Regions from separate parts of the Homo sapiens genome. Here region 2 is linked to region 1. The links are contacts of gene promoters, found by promoter capture Hi-C in human tissues and cell types (Jung and others, 2019). All regions are on one chromosome and are shown on one strand. Each heading gives the region's core, a stretch centred on a gene start or on the middle of the fragment in contact. The rest is flanking DNA. Distances are from core to core; before and after follow the strand shown. Region 1 overlaps GABPB2 (GA binding protein transcription factor subunit beta 2). Region 2 holds the start of PI4KB (phosphatidylinositol 4-kinase beta).

Evidence for each region. The method cuts DNA at HindIII sites, captures the fragments that hold promoters and counts their contacts. A contact is called where the count stands out against the background at its distance.
Region 2: the fragment with the promoter of PI4KB here is called in contact with a fragment that was not itself captured in region 1 in 2 of the 25 tissues and cell types used here (adrenal gland and bladder).

Annotation. Positions count from the first base shown.
Region 1 is chr1:151,100,237-151,106,313 of GRCh38, reverse strand. GABPB2 (GA binding protein transcription factor subunit beta 2) reads right to left here. Exons shown (of 9, transcript NM_144618.3): 6 at 2,639-2,752. Among named protein-coding and RNA genes, the nearest start is that of GABPB2, 33 kb to the right of the region's middle. The HindIII fragment of the contact is 8,752 bases long and covers 1-6,077 here.
Region 2 is chr1:151,322,887-151,328,725 of GRCh38, reverse strand. PI4KB (phosphatidylinositol 4-kinase beta) reads left to right here and starts at 1,310. Exons shown (of 12, transcript NM_001369623.2): 1 at 1,310-1,455. RefSeq lists a silencer at 873-942 and an enhancer at 878-1,802. The HindIII fragment of the contact is 6,333 bases long and covers 1-4,651 here.

The DNA.
Region 1 (6,077 bases), core at 2,052-4,551:
ATTTGATATTGGAACCCTTTTTTTTTCAGAAAGTATCTTGAAAGTCTAAAATGGCTGGGCACGGTGGCTCACGCCTGTAATCCCAGCACTTTGGGAGGCCGAGGTGGGCAGATCACCTGAGGTCAGGGGTTCGAGACCAGCCTGGCCAACATGGTGAAACCCCATCTCTACTAAAAATACAAAAATTAGCTGGGCGTGTTGGTGGGCGCCTGTAATCCCAGCTACTTGGAAGGCTGAGGCAGGGGAATTGCTTGAACCTGGGAGGCGGAGGTTGCAGTGAGCAAAGATCACGCCATTGCACTCCAGCCTGGGTGACAAGAGCGAGATTCCATCTCAAAAAAAAAAAAAATCTAAAATAACCATAAATTACAGTAGATCATTTCTATAAGAAAACAGGGATATTTAATAGTGAATTCACAGAATAATATGTGAAGTAGTCAAAATATTGAAGTTTGATAGACAAAAATGTTAGATGGCTTTTTTCCTCTGATAAATCAAGAATAATAGCTGGCTGGGTATGGTGGCTCACGCCCATAATCCCAGCACTTTGGGAGGCCACGGCAGGAGGACTGCTTGAGGCTGGGAGTTGAAGACCAGACTGAGCAGTGAGACCATCCCCCCAAATTTGAAAAATTAATTGAGCGTGGTGGCATGCACCTTTAGTCCTAGCTACTCAGGAGGCTGATGTGGGAGGATCACTTGAGCCCAGAAGTTGAAGCTGCAGTGAGCTCTGATTGTGCCACTGCACTCCAGCCTGGGTGACAGAATAACAGAATAAGATCCTGTCTGTATCAAAAGAAACCCCAAACATATATATATATACATATATGTTTATATTAAATGTATATCAAATATATATACATTTGTATATATATTTGATATATATATTTGTATATATATTTGATATACATTTGATATATACATATATATACACACATATATATATAAAATAGCCAACGCTTATGTGCCAGGTACCATTCTATGAGTGTTATGTGTATTATGTTGAATCGAGATTTTCAGTTTGATTAGTCAATATCCCAATAAACTAAGCACTATTAGAGGAAATAATTCCTACCACTATGGAATGTCTCTATCTAAAGTGTCACAGGGCCAGGCGCGGTGGCTCACACCTGTAATCCCAGCACTTTGGAAGGCCGAGGTGGGCGGATCACTGAGGTCAGTAGTTTGAGACCAGCCTGGCCAACATGGCAAAACCTCATCTCTACTAAAAATACAAAATTTAGCTGGGCATGGTGGTGGGCGCCTGTAATCCCAGCTACTTGGGAGGCTGAGGCAGGAGAATTGTGCTTGAACCCCAGAGGTGGAGATTGCAGTAAGCTGAGATCATGCCACTGCATCCCAGCCTGGGTGACAGAGTGAGACTCTGTCTCAAGAAGGAAAGAAAGAAAGAGAGAAAGAGAGAAAGAGAGAGAGAGAGAGGGAGGGAGGGAAGGAGAAAGAAAGAAAGAAAGAGAGAGAAGAGAAAGAAAGAAAGAAAGGAAAGAAAGAAAAGAAAGAAAGAAAGAAAGAAAGAAAGAGAGAAAGAAAGAAAGAGTCACAGATAGAACTTTGCAGTAATAAGTGGGGTATCAACCATCCATATGCAACACATCTAGGTAGTTCAATGGAAATAAAGGATTCACACCTCTTAGAAACAAAGAACAGTTAAATATTAAAGCTGAAAGGTCCTGGATAGATAACCTAATCCAACCATCATGCCAAAGATGAGAAAACTAGAACCTGGAGAAGTGATTTATCCAAGATCAAAGAGCAAAGCAAAAGAATAGCAAGGACAAGTTTAATACACTGCTTTTCCCTTTGCTATGTTGTTCCCTCATATACATCTGAGTAGAGATCTTTATGATTACACCCATTCAGAAAAATAGGATTGGAATTGGAAGAATGTTCTTACCACCCAAATGTCATGGCAGAAAGAAATCAGAACATTCTGCTTTCATATATGATGGAGCAGATGGCCAGAGGGTTCCAGACAGATTTCTAAATGTCTACTGAGCCCTAACTATGACTATATGCCCCTGCCTATATGAAGCCTTAAGTCTTCCCCCCACAGACCACTAGCTCTGGCTAAATGACTTGAAAACTTTTTTGTTTTAAATATCAGAAAGGCAATACATAGCCTATATTTGCTCAACTCCTTTGGAAATGCCAAAATAACATCTCCAGTGAAAATAAAAGCAAGCCATGAAGTACAAAGGATATGACAACGAAAAAGGTACCAGTCCCATGTATTTTGATACTTTAATATAAGATATCTGGGCTGCTATTTTGAATCATTCCATGATAGCATCAGTCAAAACATAACATAGAGTATCTCCAAAAAAATCTGCTAATATGAGAATAGACATTTCAATCTGAAGTAACTAGAGTCAGGGAGAACAAACTTCAAATTGTAAACACACAAAGGAATAATTCAGTCATTCTCTGATATTATTCAGCTGTCTGATTATACCACCTAGCAATTTTTCTTTCTGATGTTCAATGATGCCACATCCCTTTTCCTTAGCTGCCTCTAATTAAATGCAATTCTTTAATAATATTTCATGCAAATTAAATCTGCTGGAGACTTAAAAACAAAAGAAAAAGTGGTGATTCACCCAGCAGCATATCCCTTACCTACCTGTGGCTCTGTGTGAGTTGGAGAGGGGGACTGATGCCTCAGCAAGAGCTGCAAGGGTAGCCAGCACTGAGGTGGTAGAATTTGAAAACTGTACTGTTGAGGCATGGGGGTCACCTATTTCAGTAAGAAAGACAAATGAGGTCCAATGTAGAGAAAAAATTGAGGCAAATTAAAAACAGCTTATTAAATCAAAACCTCAGCTTTTCCTTCTAATGTCCTCAATCTTGTTCTCTAACTCAAACTGATATAAGCCAATTATATCAGTGTTAAAATTCTTTTAAGGTTTAAAAAGTTTTTCCTTTAAAGTGGATTAAATTAATATACTTGGAGGGCCGGGCGCCATTCCTGCCTGTAATCCCAGCACTTTGGGAGGCCGAGGCGGGTGGATCACGAGGTCAGGAGTTCAAGACCATCCTGGCTAACATGGTGAAACCCCGTCTCTACTAAAAATACAAAAAATTAGCTGGGCGTGGTGGTGGGCGCCTGTAGTCCCAGCCACTTGGGAGGCTGAGGCAGAAGAATGGCATGAACCCGGGAGCCAGAGCTTGCAGTGAGCTGAGATCACACCATTGCACTTCAGCCTGGGCGACAGAGCGAGACTCCTTCTCAAAAAAAAAAAAAAAAAAAAAAAGTATACTTTGTACAGGGCCACTACATTCCCCTCATTTAATCATTCTCTTGGCACTGCCAGTGCTGAGCATTAGTAGCTAACAGACCAAGAGTGCTACCCACTCCCTAAGCTGACTGGGCAGAGCTCTCCTTGGCAGCAGGCAGTAAGTGTAAAATGCATACCTCACCCCAAGCTCAGCAGTGATAAGGGAATAGTCCCCTTCTGGGCTTTACCCAATCATACTACCTTTTTTCATCAGCTAGATAGATGTGAAGAATAGGATTCACCTCTAGTACAAGAATAGTTAAAAACCTAAAGTTTCATGGCCGGATGCTGTGGCTCATGCCTGTAATCCTCGCACTTTGGGAGGCCGAGGCGGATGGATCACCTGAGATCAGGAGTTCGAGACCAGCCTGGCCAACAAGGTGAAACCCTGTCTCTACTAAAAATACAAAAATTAGCTGGGTTGGTGGTGGGCACCTATAATCCCAGCTACTCAGGAGGCTGAGGCAAGAGAATCGCTTGAACTTAGGAAGTGGAGATTGCAGTAAGCCGAGATCGCACCACTGCACTTCAGCTTGGGTGACAGAGAAAGACTCCATCTCAATAAATAAATATATAAATAAAAAGTTTCATATATTGAATGTCAAAGGGTAGTACAATAGATTAACACTAAAAACGCTAAATGTTAAAAATACTTTAGTTATGTCAAGATGTACTTTTATTTTTTATTTATTTACTTTTTGAGATGGAGTCTCGCTCTGTCTCCCAGGCTGGAGTGCAGTAGCACGGTCTCAGCTCATTGCAACCTCCGCCTCCCGGATTCAAGCGCTTCTCCTATCTCAGCCTCCTGAGTAGCTGGGATTACAGGTGTGCACCACCACGCCCAGCTAATTTTTATACTTTTAGTAGAGACGAGGTCTCGCCATGTTGCCCAGGCTGGTCTTGAACTCCTGACTTCAGGTGATCTGCCTGCTTCGGCCTCCCAAAGTGCTGGGATTATAGGCATGAGCCACTGTGTCCAGCCAAGATGTACTTTTAAAAAGACTTTGTTCATAACCTTCTTCTCTTATATCTGTGTGCTATTCTCATAGCTAAGTTGTAAGAGGGAAGCGCACTAGATCTGGCAACAGACATGCCTAACTTTATGAACCAAAAGTATTACTCTAACTGTAGATATTTCCTTGTTGGGGAAAAAAAGTATTACTCAACAGTTTTGTATAAATCTTACTTTTATAAAATGAATTATATTTCTCTATTTCTTTCACTATAATTTCAGAGATACCTATTATGCCAGTTACAAATTTATTGCCTCTCAGTTCCGAATCTACCCTTCTTTGTCCTGCCTGGTGATGCTGGGGCTGGACCCTATAAACATTTCTTGTCAGCTGGCATGACATTAAGCTTTGTTAGTATAGAAGTAGAAGTAGCTGCTGCACCCTCTATTGGCTATTCCTGTATTCTTTTCTTTTTTCTTTTTCTTTTTTTTTTGAGACGGAGTTTTGCTCTTGTTGCCCAGACTGGAGTGCAGTGGCGCGATCTCAGCTCACTGCAACTTCTGCCTCCCAGGTTCACGCCATTCTCCTGACTCAGCCTCCCTAGTAACTGGGACTACAGGCGCGCACCACCATGCCCAGCTAATTTTTGTATTTTTAGTAAGACGGGGTTTCACCATGTTAGCCAGGCTGGTCTCGAACTCCTGACCTCAAGTGATCTGCCCACCTCGGCCTCCCAAAGTGCTGGGATTATAGGCGTGAGCCAGCACACTAAGCAATATATTTTATTTTTAAATGTACTCTTAATTTATTTTTTCAAGACAAACTCTGGCATTATCGCCCAGGCTGCAGTGCAGTGGTACAATCTTGGCTTACTCCAGCCTCTGCCTCCCAGGCCCAAGCTGTTCTCCCACCTCAGCCTCCCAAGTAGCTGGGACTACAGGTGTGCATCACCATGCCTGGCTAATTTTTTTTTTTTTGTATTTTTTGTACAGACCAGGTTTCACCATGCTGCCCAGGCTGCTCTCGAACTCATGAGTTCAAGCTATCCACCTGCCTCAGCCTCCCAAAGTGCTGAGATTATAGGCGTGAGCCATCGCACCCAGTCTACTCTTAATTTTTAAGTTTTCCCACTACCTATGCTTAAATATTCTTTCCAGTTTTTCTTCTTTCAAGAAGTCAGGGCCAGGCACGGTGGCTCATGCCTGTAATCCCAGCACTTTGGGAGGCCGAGGTGGGCAGATCACCTGAGGTCAGGAGTTTGAAACCAGCCTGGCCAACATGGTGAAACCCCGTCTCTTCTAAAAATACAAAAATTAGCTGGGCGTGGTGGCAGGCACCAGTATCCCAGCTACTTAGGAGGTTGAGGCACAAGAATCGCTTGAACCTGGGAGGCAGAGTTTGCGGTGAGCCAAGATCATGCCACTGCACTCCAGCCTGAGTGACAGAGTTAAACTCTGTCTCAAAAAAAAAAAAAAAAAAAAAAAAAAGGCCAGGCACAGTGGCTCACACTTGTAATCCCAATACTTTGGGAGGCTAAGGCAGGTGAATTGCTTGAGCCCAGGAGTTTGAGACCAGCCTGGGCAACATGGTGAAACCCCATCTCTACTAAAAACTACAAAAAAATTAGCTGGGTGTGGTGGCAGGCGCCTGTAATCCCAGCATTTTAGGAGGCCATGGCGAGTGGATCACAAGCTCAGGAGTTCGAGACCAGCCTGGCCAACATGGTGAAACCCCGTCTCTACTAAAGATACAAAAATTAGCCAGGCATGGTGGCAGGCGCCTGTAATCCCAGCTACTCGGGAGGCTGAGGCAGGAGAATCACTTGAACCCA
Region 2 (5,839 bases), core at 61-2,560, 220 kb before region 1:
AGTAAGGCACTAATGAGGGGCATTGCATATTAAGTAAAGCCCTAGGAAAGGCATTGAGATAGAGGTTCTGAGGACAAAGAGGGCTCTAAATCAACAATCTTAACCGAAAAATACACAAAAAACTTGCTGGGCGAGGTCGGGCCTATAATCCCAGCACTTTGGTACCTGAGGCCGGCAGATTGCTTGAGGCTAACAGTTCGAGACAAGCTTGGGCAACATAGCAAGACCCTGTCTTTACAAAACAAACAAACAAACGAAAAATACACAAAAGCAACACCAGAGGCCCATTTGCATGGCGTGTTTTTGTTTATTTGTTTGGCCTAATATGGTTTCGTTTTGTTTGGAAGAAGGGATTGTGCCCTCCAAGCCTTTGTCGTTTCACTCACCTCTCCCAACCTGGCCCTGTCCAGCCCCTCCCTGGAGGGCTGGGCATATGGATGCTGGAGGTCACAGGCTGCCCAGGCAGGTTGGTGACCTCGGAGGCAGAACCACGGCCTCGAGTCGGGCCTCTAACGGCGAAAAGACTGACGCGGTTGGACCGCGCCATTCCCGAAATGTTAAGGAGCTTAAACTCCGCATCGTCCTCCAAGATAAGTAGGAAAAGGGCAGTCAGAAAGAACGTCTTCCCCGTCCGCCGTCTTCCTGCGCGCCCTTCTAGGAACCCAGCGTCCATCCCACGGCCTGATTTACTAAGGGAGTCTTGTAGCATACGGGAGGGGGAAAAGTCATTGATTGCAATTACGGTAATTTGGTTAGTTACTCAAACGGTCGTTTACATATAACTTGCATGTTAATATACTTCTGGAAGTATGCATATGTCCATACTTCTTTAACAGGGCACCCACGGCCGCCTGCTCACCCTACTTATGCAGCAAATTTTACTTCTCTCTCGGCTTCTTTAGCCTCGCAAACGCTATCGCTTAGGTCCGCTTCTTAAATATTGGCCCCTCCTCCCACCCGTAAGCTCCTCCCTTCGCCCTCTCTCCCTCGAGAGCTTCCAAACATCTTTTCCCCGCCCCCTTTTCTATTTCTGAACAGGCATGTTCCAGGCAGCTCACCCGACTCCTTAGATTACTATGGAATCGGTAGGGTCCTGACCGCTGGGGAAGCAGGAAAGCGTATCCTGGGAAGAAAGGCTTGGCTTGGACTCCGGAGAAGAATACTACATCGAGACCTGCTGGGGAATTTTATTTTATTTTATTATTTTTTTGGTCTTGGTTGTACTGAGGGAGGAAGAAGAGGTTGTGTGGCCCGGTCGAACTTGTGGCAGCCTGAAGGCCCCCTCAGGCGGCGCCGCGGGCAGCCCCGCAGCCGGGGCCTGGTGCAGCCTCCGCGGCCGCTGTCAGGGAAGCGCAGGCGGCCAATGGAACCCGGGAGCGGTCGCTGCTGCTGAGGCGGCAGTGTCGGCAGTCCAACCGCGACTGCCCGCACCCCCTCCGCGGGGGTCCCCCAGAGGTAAGCTACTCCTCCTTCATGAGTCACCTTTGCCCTGTTGGGTGGGGGGGGGGGTCCCTCTCCCACCCTGTCCCGCACAGTCTTCCCCACCTGAGTTCGACTACGAAACTGCCCTCTTGGTGTCAGCTGCACCCCGGGTTCCTTCTCCACCCTTTCCTCTCAGGCCTGGGGTCCTCCTCCGCTTTTTGGCTTCCTCTTCTATTAGCTCCTCCCTCTGCCTCGGGGATTCCCCCCTCCCTCACTCATCCCTGTTGCCTACGTCTCGAATAATTCTTTTTTTTAAGTCATGAACCCTTTCCATATCAGACGACTCCCATAATGCCCATCCTTGTCCTTCCTCGTCGTCTCTGCCCCTGCCCCAAACCTTTTCCATGGACTCCACCTTTATCTCTTTTCCTAGTTTGCACTTTTCCTCCTATGTCCCTGTGCAACTCCAGCACTGGGTTCCCATTTCCCTGAGCTAAAGATTGCATCCCTGTCTTCCTGTGCTGCTTCTGATTCCATTACCTCACTGTCACCCACCTACCCAGCCAGCTCCTGGCTTCCAAGAATTGCCTGTTCCCTTCTCCTTAAGGGATCTCGGGCCCTTGTCATCAATCCAAAAGTACCATTTACATTCTTACTTTGAACCTAGTCCTCACTCTTCTCTGGGATGCATTATGATCCCTATAACTTTCTTTAGCTTCTCTTTCTCCCTCCTCAATCCCCCAACTTTCTAGAGGTTTCTGTCTGTAGGGGAGAGATTTGACAGTGCCCTTCCCATTCAGGATTTCCAACTTTGACACCTCCCTCGAGTTTCAGGGATTTCTCTGATCCTTGTGACATTTGTTCTGTTTTTCCCGTGGGCTTCATGTGTTCTCTGTTACACTCTTTATCTCCACATACCACTTATTTCAGGATCAACTAAACCTTGAACTAAGAAGAAAAATGTGTTGTGAGCAGGGGGAGCCTCAGCTGCCTCAGGCCGTTCAGGACAGAAGGGTGTTTCTGAAGGCCGGAGCAAGTTTTGAAGAAGTCCCTATCAGATTACACTTGGTTGACTACTCCGGAGCAGCCACTAAGAGGGATGAACAGGCCTGCGTGGAAATTGAATGAGATTGTGAGAAAACTTGTTTCAGATTATTTAATTTTAGGCTTTTGTTAAAGGAATCACAGAATAGAGTGCCTTCTCACCCCTGTCCAGATCCATGAGGAATCAGTTTATTCTTGTGGTTTACTAGAATAGTTTTGGTTGGTTCCATAAGAATTCAGGCCTGGAGTGGGGTAAGGGTATAACTGGAAAAAGGAACATGAGACAATGGAAAGAGCTTGTACATTCAGAATCGGGACTCCTGGGTTCAGCATGTGACTTCCTCACTTGACCTCTAGAGTGATCCTTTTGGAAAATGCCCACTCTCTGTAGGCATCAGTGCAGTAATAAGTTGGTAGCAGGATGTGGGTTGGGGGAAAAAATCAGATTTGGTTTATTTGTTTACAAAACATTTTGGGTTCCTCAGGCAAAAGGTATTTATTAGTAGTGGTTTAGTCATCCTGAGAATTTTCCTTCACCTTGGTCTTTCTGTCAGATGTTTCTAGTCCACAACCAGGGGTGTAAGTCATTTTGAAAGACAAGCTCCAGGCCTGCTTCCTTCATCTGCTTTGCTTTTTCCCCCAGTGCATTAAGTGGCTGATTTTCTGTCCTGTTCCTCACGTACTTGATCCATAACTCCAGATTCTATAGGTAGAAAGTATGTTTGTGGGAAAGCACTTTGAGGAAGCTGGCTGGAAAAGAGAACTTGGAGTGAACTGAGACTTAGGCAACTAGTTGCTGCCATGTCTCTCTCAGCCTGTGATAGCGAAAGGGCACGTGAGATTCCATTCATTTTCTGATTCTAGGTCTGTTTGGGAGTAGTTATGTCATCTTATCCCACTTCCTTTCTCTTCCTTGTCGTTAGTCATGGTGCAGTCTCCTCATAATTCCCCTTATTAGAAGCTTTCCTGCCAGGCGCGGTGGCTCACACCTGTAATCCCAGCATTTTGGGAGGCCGAGGCAGGCAGATCACCCGAGGTCAGGAGTTCAAGACCAGTCCGGCCAACATGGTGAAACCCCATCTCTACTAAAAATACAAAAAATTAGCCGGGCATGGTGGCGAGCTTCTGTAATCCCAGCTACTCCGGAGGCTGAAGCAGGAGAATTACTTGAACCCAGGAGGCGAAGGTTGCAGTGAGCCGAGATCACGCCACTGCACTCCAGCCTGGGTGACTGAGTGAAACTCTGTCTCAGGAAAAAAAAAAAAAAAAAAGCAGCTTTCCTCCTTGGAAGCATCCCCAACCAGAAATCATATTTCCTCTCATTTCCCTGCTTTCTTCTTAGAGTTGAGTCCACGCTCCATGAGAATGCTGAACACCATCCAAAGCAGCAAATTGAGATTCCTTGATTTGGGGAAGAGGTTTGGGAGGAACCCTTCAATAATTGGCATGGGACAAGAGGGGACCCAGTCCAAGTGTATTTGGGACTCGCAGTAGGGAGGAACAATTCAGAGAGAGGTGAGTGCACAGGCTGCTTTCTTTGCCATCTGTTTCAGTAGCGGCTCCCATAGCTGGCTTGGGCTGTCTGGCTGGAATCTGCTTATACCAGCTCCATGGCTCTGCACAGAGTTCTCAGCCTGAATCAATATTGACTTAACTACCATGAGACCACTGCCCTCCCTACCCTCGTGCTAGTAGCTTGAGAATGCCCTCTCCCCTAATGCCCACACTCTCTGGGCCCTTGTGTCAGCAGTTACCTGGATCCTGGTAGGGCTGGAGCTGGCTTGACTGCCTGGCCCTGAGTTTCTATAAGGAAAAAGGAGTACTCAATCTCTACCTTTACCATTGAGGTCAAAGGGGAGAGATGAGTTGAGACATCCTTAAAGAAAGGTTTGAGTTAGACATTAAGACATGAGGAGGAACTCCTCAACAGCAGAACAGGCAGTCAAAGATGATATGGAGTCTCTTTTGAGGAGCAACCTCTCTTTAAAAATTATTTTTGGGCTGGGCACCGTGGCTCATGCCCGTAATCCCAGCACTTCGGGAGGCTGAGGTGGGCGGATCACTTGAGGTCAAGAGTTGGAAACCAGCCTGGCATGTTCGAGACAACATGGTGAAACCCCATCTCTACTAAAAATACAAAAATTAGCCAGGTGTGGTGGCGTGTGCCTGTAATTCCAGCTACTCGGGAGGCTGAGGCAGAGAATCACTTGAACCTGAGAGGCAGAAGTTGCAGTGAGCTGAGATGGCGCCACTGCACTCCAGCCTGGGTAACAGAGCGAGACTCCATCTCAAAAAAAAAAAAATTTTTTTTTGAAGGAATGCATGCATTTGGTAACAAATCCAATGGTACTCAAAGAGTTTATGAAGAAAAACAGCAGTCCTGTTTCCGTTCATCCCTACTCCTGTTCTCGCAGAGTTAACCTCCTTAATTATCTCAGTGTTCTGAAGGTTATCACCATAGCTTTAGATAAAATGCTTGTTCCTCTATTTCTTTGTTTTTTTGTTTGTTTTTGTTGTTGTTTTTGTTTGTTTGTTTGAGATGGAGTCTCGTTCTGTCGCCCAGGCTAGAGTGCAGTGGCACGATCTCGGCTCACTGCAACCTCTGCCTCAGGGTTCAAGCAGTTCTCCTGCCTCAGCCTCCCGAGTAGCTGGGATTACAGGTGCCCGCCACCACGCCTGGCTAAGTTTTTGTATTTTTTGGTAGAGATGGGGTTTCACCATGTTGGCCAGGCTGGTCACGAACTCCTGACCTCAGGTGATCCACCCACCCCGGCCTCCCAGAGTGCTGGGATTACAGCGATCTCAGCTCACGGCAACCTGCGCCTCCCAGGTTTAAGCGATTGTTCTGCCTCAGCCTCCCGAGTAGCTGAGATTACAGGCACCCGCCACCATGCCTGGCTAGTTTTTTATATTTTTTAGTAGAGACGGGGTTTCACCATGTTGGCCAGGCTGGTCACAAAGTGCTGACCTCAGGTGATCCACCCGCCTCAGCCTCCCAGAGTGCTGGGATTACAGGCATGAGCCACTGCACCTGGCCATTTGTTCCTCTATTTCTTTACTTATTGTTACAAACAAGGATTTAGCTTTAGAGGATATACCTCTCATTTATATAATTATGTCATTTTTATTTCTTCTACTGGACACCTGTATAACTTTAAATAATATTTAATATATTTGAACCTTTCTTTCTTTTCCATTAACTTTTGACAGTCTCTCTTAATTCACCTTGTAGAATGAACGTCAGATATTGGTTTCCTTACCCGTTTTTCCATCTCTTGTGGATCCATCTCAAAGGACTGTGAGATGTATAAAAAAAGGATAGAGGAGACTAGTTGTGGTGGCTCATGCTTTGTAATCTCAGCACTTTGGGAGG